Regions from separate parts of the Homo sapiens genome. Here region 1 is linked to region 2. Evidence: promoter capture Hi-C in 16 types of primary human blood cells and fetal thymus (Javierre and others, 2016). All regions are on one chromosome and are shown on one strand. Each heading gives the region's core, a stretch centred on a gene start or on the middle of the fragment in contact. The rest is flanking DNA. Distances are from core to core; before and after follow the strand shown. Region 1 overlaps CD86 (CD86 molecule). Region 2 holds the start of POLQ (DNA polymerase theta).

Region 1 (3,719 bases), core at 115-2,614, 540 kb after region 2:
GTCTGATTCCTGTGAGCTTCCTCATACTAAATCACCAACAGCAACCTACTTATCACAGAATATGAGAATTGAACAAGTGTTGGCAAGGATGTGGAGAAATTGGAGCTCTTGTTCCAGTTGTCGATGGGAATGTAAAGTGATGTCGCTGCTATGGAAAATAGTGTAGCAGTTCCTCAGAAAATTAAAAATAGAATGACCACATGATCTAGCAATTCCCCTTCTGGGTATATACCCAAAAGAACTGAAAGCAGAGTCTTAAAGAGATATTCATACAGCCTTGTTCATACCAGCATTATGCACAATAGCCAAAAGGTGGAAGCAACTCAAATGTCCATCAAAAATGAATGGATAAACAAAATGTAGTATGTACATACAGTGGAATATCATTTAGTCTTAGAAAGAAAGGAAATTCAAACACATGCTACAATGTGGATGGCCCTTGAATACATTATACTAAGTGAAATAAGCCAGTCACAAAAAGACAAATACTGTATGAGTTTACTTATACCCTAAGCAGTCAAATTCATGGAAACAGAAGGTGGAATGGTGGTTGGCAAGAGCTGAGAGGAGGAGAGAAAGAAGAGTTATTGTTTAATAGGTATAGAGGCTTAGTTTTGCAAGATGAAAGAGTTCTGAAGATGGATGTAGTGATGACTGTACAACAATGTGAATGTATTTCATACCACTGTACACTCAAAAGGTGAAGATGGCAAATTTTATGTGTATTATGCCACAACTAATAAAGATTTCTAAAACTTATGAGATCTAATTTCACCGTTTCCTATTGCTAAAGATCACAAATTAGAAAACACGTTGGCAAAAGGTACATGAAAATAAGCACTCTTGTGTTGATCAGAGCATAAACGTATAATCTCATAAACTAATAAAGATTTCTAAATAACAAAGATTTCTAAAACTTATGAGATGTAATTTCACCATTTCCTATTGCTAAAGATCACAAATTAGAAAACATGTTGGCAAAAGGTACATGAAAATAAGCACTCTTGTGTTGATCAGAGCATAAACGTATAATCTCAGGGGAGAACAATTTGCAACTATTCTTCAACCCTTTGGTCAAACGATTCTGCTTCTAGGAATATAGCTTACTCCCACCTGTGTGATATGGCATATAATCAAGGTTTTCCATTGCAACAAAAGATTGGAAACAACGTTAAGTATCCATCACTAGTGGTCTGGAAATATATATATATTATTGTCATCCAATAGAATACAATAGACTAATATGCAACTTTTAGCATGAGGATACTCGTTACATGCTGATACAGAATAATCTCCAAGGTAGTCATATGTGTGCAAAACCGTACATAGTATGCTACCATTTGTGCTTAAAAATAAAAAGAAAACAGAATATGGGTCAATGTTTTTGTTTAGTTTTGTCTAAAGTAACTTTAAGTAGAGGCAAGAAACTGGTAACATGTAACAGTGATCACCCCTGTTACCTCTGTGGAAGAAAACTAGACAGCTAAGGGACAAGGCTGGGAGGCAGACTTGCTTTCCACTATTTATCACCTTTATCTTTCAAATTTAGTACCATCTACATTTAGTACCATGATCTATTCAAAAATATTTATTAAAAAAAGAAAAGGTATAGTCTAGAAGGAAAAAAAACATAACAGACACTTCTAGCCCAATGTCCTGCACTGGGTGCTATGAGAGCAGAGGAAAGAAACACATATGGCTTCTAGACAACACCGTCTGGGGCATACATTTCTGCTATTCGATCAAGAATAGTTGTGCATCTTTTCCTGGAAAGAATTGATTTGTTTTTATCAACAGACCTATGAATTTAGTGGACAGACCTGTGAATTAATTCACTGGTTAGGTTTTCCTTTTTACATTGGCTGTTAAAAAGCTATAAGCCAAATTTATGTCCCCCTCAGTGCAAATTGGGCAGATTTCTAGGGCAAGCATTTAGCACTGGCCTTGTCCTTGGCTCTGTATCATATTCCTGTATTTGGTTTGCTTTTCCACCTGTTTCTCATGTTGGTCATCTTTCCTGTGTATGGCCATACCATCCTGAATGTGCCTGATCGCATCTAATGTTGGTCACCTCTCCTTATTCTTTGCTTCCTTATAAGCCACTAAGCAGCCTTTTTGGTGCTAGTTAGGGTAAGTGCGTGGGTAGTGAAGGAGGGAGGAGGGAGAGGAAGAAAGAAGATAGAGGTTATAAAGCAAAGCATATCCTTTTTCTTGGCTTCATCATGTAGATTAAGTGAATTGCTCTCAAAGCGTGGTCCTTAGGCCGGCAGCATTGTCATCACCTTATGTTGTTAAACATAAAAATTCATGGGTTTCATCCCAACTTACTAAGCCAGACTTTCTGTGGTTGAGGCCCAGGAAACTCTCCAGGTGATTTTTACTCACATTCAAGTTTGAGAACCACAGGAAAACAAAAGGAAGGCAGATTTCTAAGCGTAAATGCAATACTAACCGATTGCCCCCATCATGCCTGTTATGTTGGTCAAGATAAATAATACTAGCTACTGCAATAATCAATCCCTCAAATTTTATTTTTTGCCAATATCACAATCCATTGTAGATCAGTTGTGGGAGAGGTGTAAAGAGAGCTGCTTTATTAGTTTATTAAGCAAACCAGATCTCTTCCATTGTGAGACTTTGCGATTTTCTAGGCCCTTGGACATTTCCTCTGGATCCCCTGCTGCTAAGAAGGCAGGAGAGGGAGGAAAGAGAAGAGACTTTAGCAGCCAGATCTGGAAGAAACATCTTTTCTGCCCACAATTCCATTGGCTAGAAGCCAGTCTCATGGCCTGTATAACTGCAGGGGAGGCTGGGAAATGTGACCTATCGATGGAGCTAAGAGCAAAAGGAAATGGCTTTGATGAAGCCCTGGCATTGTCTCTGCACACCCGAGAACCCAAGTGAATCCCAAACTCCACGTCCAGGTCATGTTTTGGTGAACATCGGTTTTCAGTTTCCTTTTCTAATCAAGTTTTACCTTTTTTTTTCTCGACTCTAGCACTATGGGACTGAGTAACATTCTCTTTGTGATGGCCTTCCTGCTCTCTGGTAAGAACCTTTCAGCTTTGTTAAGTCCTGGAATCCTACTGTCTCCTGATGAGTCTGACCACAGCAAGCCCAGGCCTGAGACTTGGTGGGTTTTACTCACTTTCTACTGAGCATTGTACAAGACCACATGCAAAAAAGACTTTCCTGGAGAAGAAGGAAGTGTTATGATTGAGAGCAGCTGATGGCAGGCAGCTGGGATGGAGCTCTCCCCCCCGTGTGCTTCTTCCTCCTCTGCAGTCTCACATCAGTGAGCCTAGATGCTCAGAGTAGGGTAGCCTGGCCCATCCCATGGGGATGGGGGAAGGCTGCTGCACTGAGGCCCCTGAGACTTGACTCTTTTGTTCCACACATATTCTCTTCTGGTCTTCTCTGACCCTGTTTCTGTCTTTCTCAGGCTCCTAGGAAACAACTGACAGAATTCCAAAAGTCTCCCTTCATTCGGAGCACTGGCTTTCACGTCCCTGACTTCCCTACCCTCTCTCACTCCCTTCCCTACAGCCCATGCACATACCTCATGGTTGCCACGGCTTCCTGACAACTATGGATGTTCAGCTAATTGTGTCAGCTGATTTATAGTGGAGCCAATGAAGCTGAAGCTTCAGAGCCCTCCATTTGCACAACCCTTTCTAAATCCCCCTCAAGACCCTGTGAAGGGCCCCCTAGCAGTGTGG
Region 2 (3,596 bases), core at 492-2,991:
GGAGGCTGAGGCAGGAGAATCACTTGAACCTGGGAGGTGGAAGTTGCAGTAAGCCCACATAGCGCCACTGCACTCCAGCCTGGAGACAAACTCTATCTCAAGAAAAAAAAAAGGTAAATTAACAAACATGTAATGATAATGCTCATACCCTGAAAAGCAACCAGGATCAAACAGGGGAAGGGCAGATTTACATCTCCCATTGCACACTCACTGGGATATATGTTTGTTGAGAATAATGGCAGGCAGAATTGCCCACTCTTTAAATTGTCATTTTTCTTGCTTCCCTCCACCCCAGTCAAACAATAAAACTTTTGTAATTTAAATATAAATAAAACTCCACTTTTCACACATATTGTACGATTTTCTCTAGTTATAAAGCACTGCCTCATTCACCTTTTAAACGAACCACAACTACCTCAATAGAGTATTCTTTACATTCATATCTTAAAAATAGTAATTAGTTTACATAAATTTGGATACCTGAATAAACTAAATTCTTTCCTTCCAGGACTTGTCCAAGCAAAAGGCACTCTGCCTGCCATTCAAACATCTTTTTTACACCAAAACTGTGGTATTTTTCCAGAACTGCTTTAGGAAGTCCCCAGTTTGCCAATAGTAGCTTGTCTCTTTCGTAGTCAGGAACTGTAGGCTTGCATTCTCCTTTTAGGAAAAAGAAAAAATTAAAATTTAATTTACTTCTAATATATGAGTTTTACAGTTAGCCCTTCACCGTGTGTTGGAATTCCTATGTGTTGAAATGAAGCTCTTTAAAGCACATCCTGACTTCAAGAATCTTATGAGAAATTGACCATGTATAGAAAAGTAATAAATTGTTATTTACTGCATATAATAAAAATTCCTTAAAAGCCTCAAACGAACAAAAAAGCGTGCAATACACAGTAGATAAAGAGTGTTGGAATTACGGGTGTAGTTGGGGGAGGAGGGCAATATGCAAGCATTACAAAGCTAAGTTAGGTGAGTTTCTATTTATAGTAAGTTTTAGTTCCATGACGACTGCACAACTAACGATTTTAAAAAACTGGGTCGACATCCACGGGACACCCAACCAATCTCATTACGAATCCCTTCCAGCCTTCCCCTGGACGCCGAACAGCCTGTGCCGTACTCCAGGCCCAACAATCCTGTCTTAAGGGTCTGTAAGGAGTACTGGGTACTACCAGGAACGAGCCGCCCAACAGATGATGGGATGAAGCTAACTAGGAAGTTGTTTCTCTAAAGGTCGAAAGATCCAGAAGCCACGTGAACATTAATACCAGGCGATCACTGAAAACACGCGTATGTCTGAACAGAAAGTGACCTGCCACACCAGGCCCCAGTCACAGAGAAGGGGAGTAGAAGCCCAATGGGGTATGCAACGAAGCAAGTCCCGTGGGGTGAGGACACCTCCCGACCCATGGCCCGGCGGAGCTGCCCCCGTTGCCCGCGGCCTCCCGGGTTCCTGGAGCACCTGCAGCTGCGGCCTTCAGGCAGCGACCAAGGCCGGGCGGCGGGCTCAGCACGGACCCGGAGAGGAACTGGGGGCTGGCACTGCTGTCACCGCCGCTTCCCGAGAACGAATCTGAGCCTGATTCTGAACGCCGCCGTTTCCCACTCCGACGCAGAAGATTCATGGCAAACTCTTCTCGGCCGATCAGGGCAAGCCACAGTCCCAGCGTCCTCCCTCTCGGGAGAACCCTGGCCTGGCAACAGCTGCGGACATCTTCCCGCCAGTCTTCAAACTCAAACCTCCCGGCCCGCCCCGGAACCATAGAGTTCTCCGTGGCTTAAGTAACCCGAAAGCCATAGACTCGTGGGGAAGGAGCGGCTCTCGCTGGCGTCTAAGACTTCCGGCCTCCAACCTCCTGGTTGGTTAATATGAGAGATAGATTAAAGAGGAAGAATACAGAATCTACAGTTATAACCATACTGACCTAAAAGCCTTCCTTCTCCTTTTGTCCATTTCTGGTTTGAATAGGAAGGCCATGCTAACTTCATAAAATGGGCTGCCCATAATAGGTAGATCAGGGAAGTAGCTCTTCTTAACGTATTGGTATTCTGTAAAAAATTATTTCAGATTGAGAAGCATTATGCAAGATAGCCTAGGGTTTCTAATAGAGCATAATTTCCTCCTTTCTCCTAGTATATGATGGTAGGGCAGGGCTATTTCTGAACACAATTTCCATTTTAGCCAGCATGCATTGTGAGGAATATGTAATGAGGAATTGGGGATTGCTGGCTGACAGACCCCTGAGACACTATATGAACGCCGCGAGGAAGGGGCTCTGAATATACCCCAGGGATCGTTATGAGCCAAGAGCTTAGTAATGCATCTGTGTTGTCCCTTTTGTAAAGGTAGAAGCGAACGAGTTCTGAACGTAAAACGGTGACCATTCATTACCTAGTTGCATAATTCATTTCACCAAGCAAAACTAGTAGGCCCTAAGCCTGACCTGAAGAGGCTGTGCAGTTCTAGAGCACTAAAAATCTCAAAAGGTCCAGTCCAATTAAAAAAAAAAAAAACACTCGAATACAATCTGGAAAATAGCATTCGAACCATCAATTCCTTCCGTGAAAACATTTTTTTGATTTAAATGACAATATTCTAAAGTTCCACGAGATGGCGACATTACTCCGTGAATGAAACATTTTTCTCTTGGCCTTTTACGCAATCAACAACTATTTACTGAGTATCTACTGTAAGCTAGCCACTGGGTAAATGGCAGTGAAATGGCATAAAATGGTTCCTGCTCTCAAAGAGAAAGAGTCTAGAGAATAAGGCAGACATTAAACAAGTCAGTTAATGAAGTGTGCCATATGCTTGGGCAGAAATGAAGAGTACTATTAAAGAAATAAAAGAGATCTCGCCGGCCGTGGTGGCTCACGCCTGTAATCCCAGCACTTTGGGAGGCCGAGATGAGTGCATCACCTGAGGTCAGGAGCTCTAGACCAGCCTGGCCAACATGGTGAAACCCCGTCTCTACAAAAATACAAAAAATTAGCCGGGTATGATGGCGGGTGCCTGTAATCCCAGCTACTCTGGAGGCTGAGGCGGGAGAATTGCTTGAACCTGGGAGGCGGTGGTTGTAGTGAGCCGAGATCGCACCACTGCACTCCAACCTGTGCGACAAAGAAAGACTCCGTCTCAAAAAAAGAAAAAAAAAAAAAAGAGAGAGAGACCCCTAGATTGCAGCCAAGAAAGAACTTTCTCAGATGCAGTGTAACTTAAGGGTTAACAGTGCAACTCTGGAGTCAGTCAGTCTAGGTTTGAAACTTAGTAGCTGTGAGATCTTGGGCAACTTGCTTAACCCATTTTTTGTTTGTTTGTTTGTTTTGAGACGGAGTGTCCCACTCTGTCGCCCAGGCTGGAGTGCAGTGGCTTGATCTCTGCTGACTGCAACCTCTGCCTCCCAGGTTCAAGCGTTTCTCCTGCCTCAGCCTCCCAAGTAGCTGGGATTACAGGCCTGCACCACCACACCTGGCTAATTTTTGTATTTTTAGTACAGACAGGGTTTCACCATGTTGGTCAAGCTGGTCTCGAACTCCTGACCTCAAATGACCCGTCCACCTCCGCCTCCCAAAGTGCTGGGATTACAGCG

What was found. Contacts are between HindIII fragments. The CHiCAGO score rates a contact against its expected background, and 5 or more counts as called.
Region 1: a contact is called between a fragment that was not itself captured here and the fragment with the promoter of POLQ in region 2, in 1 of 17 cell types (naive CD8 T cells). The highest score is 5.4, in naive CD8 T cells.

Annotation. Positions count from the first base shown.
Region 1 is chr3:122,088,603-122,092,321 of GRCh38, forward strand. CD86 (CD86 molecule) reads left to right here. Exons shown (of 7, transcript NM_175862.5): 2 at 2,999-3,048. Among named protein-coding and RNA genes, the nearest start is that of CD86, 35 kb to the left of the region's middle. The HindIII fragment of the contact is 4,556 bases long and covers 1-3,642 here.
Region 2 is chr3:121,544,247-121,547,842 of GRCh38, forward strand. It overlaps POLQ (DNA polymerase theta), which reads right to left and starts at 1,742. Exons shown (of 30, transcript NM_199420.4): 1 at 1,469-1,742; 2 at 481-660. The coding sequence starts at 1,631. RefSeq lists enhancers at 1,475-1,704, 1,596-1,890. The HindIII fragment of the contact is 11,524 bases long and covers 1-3,596 here.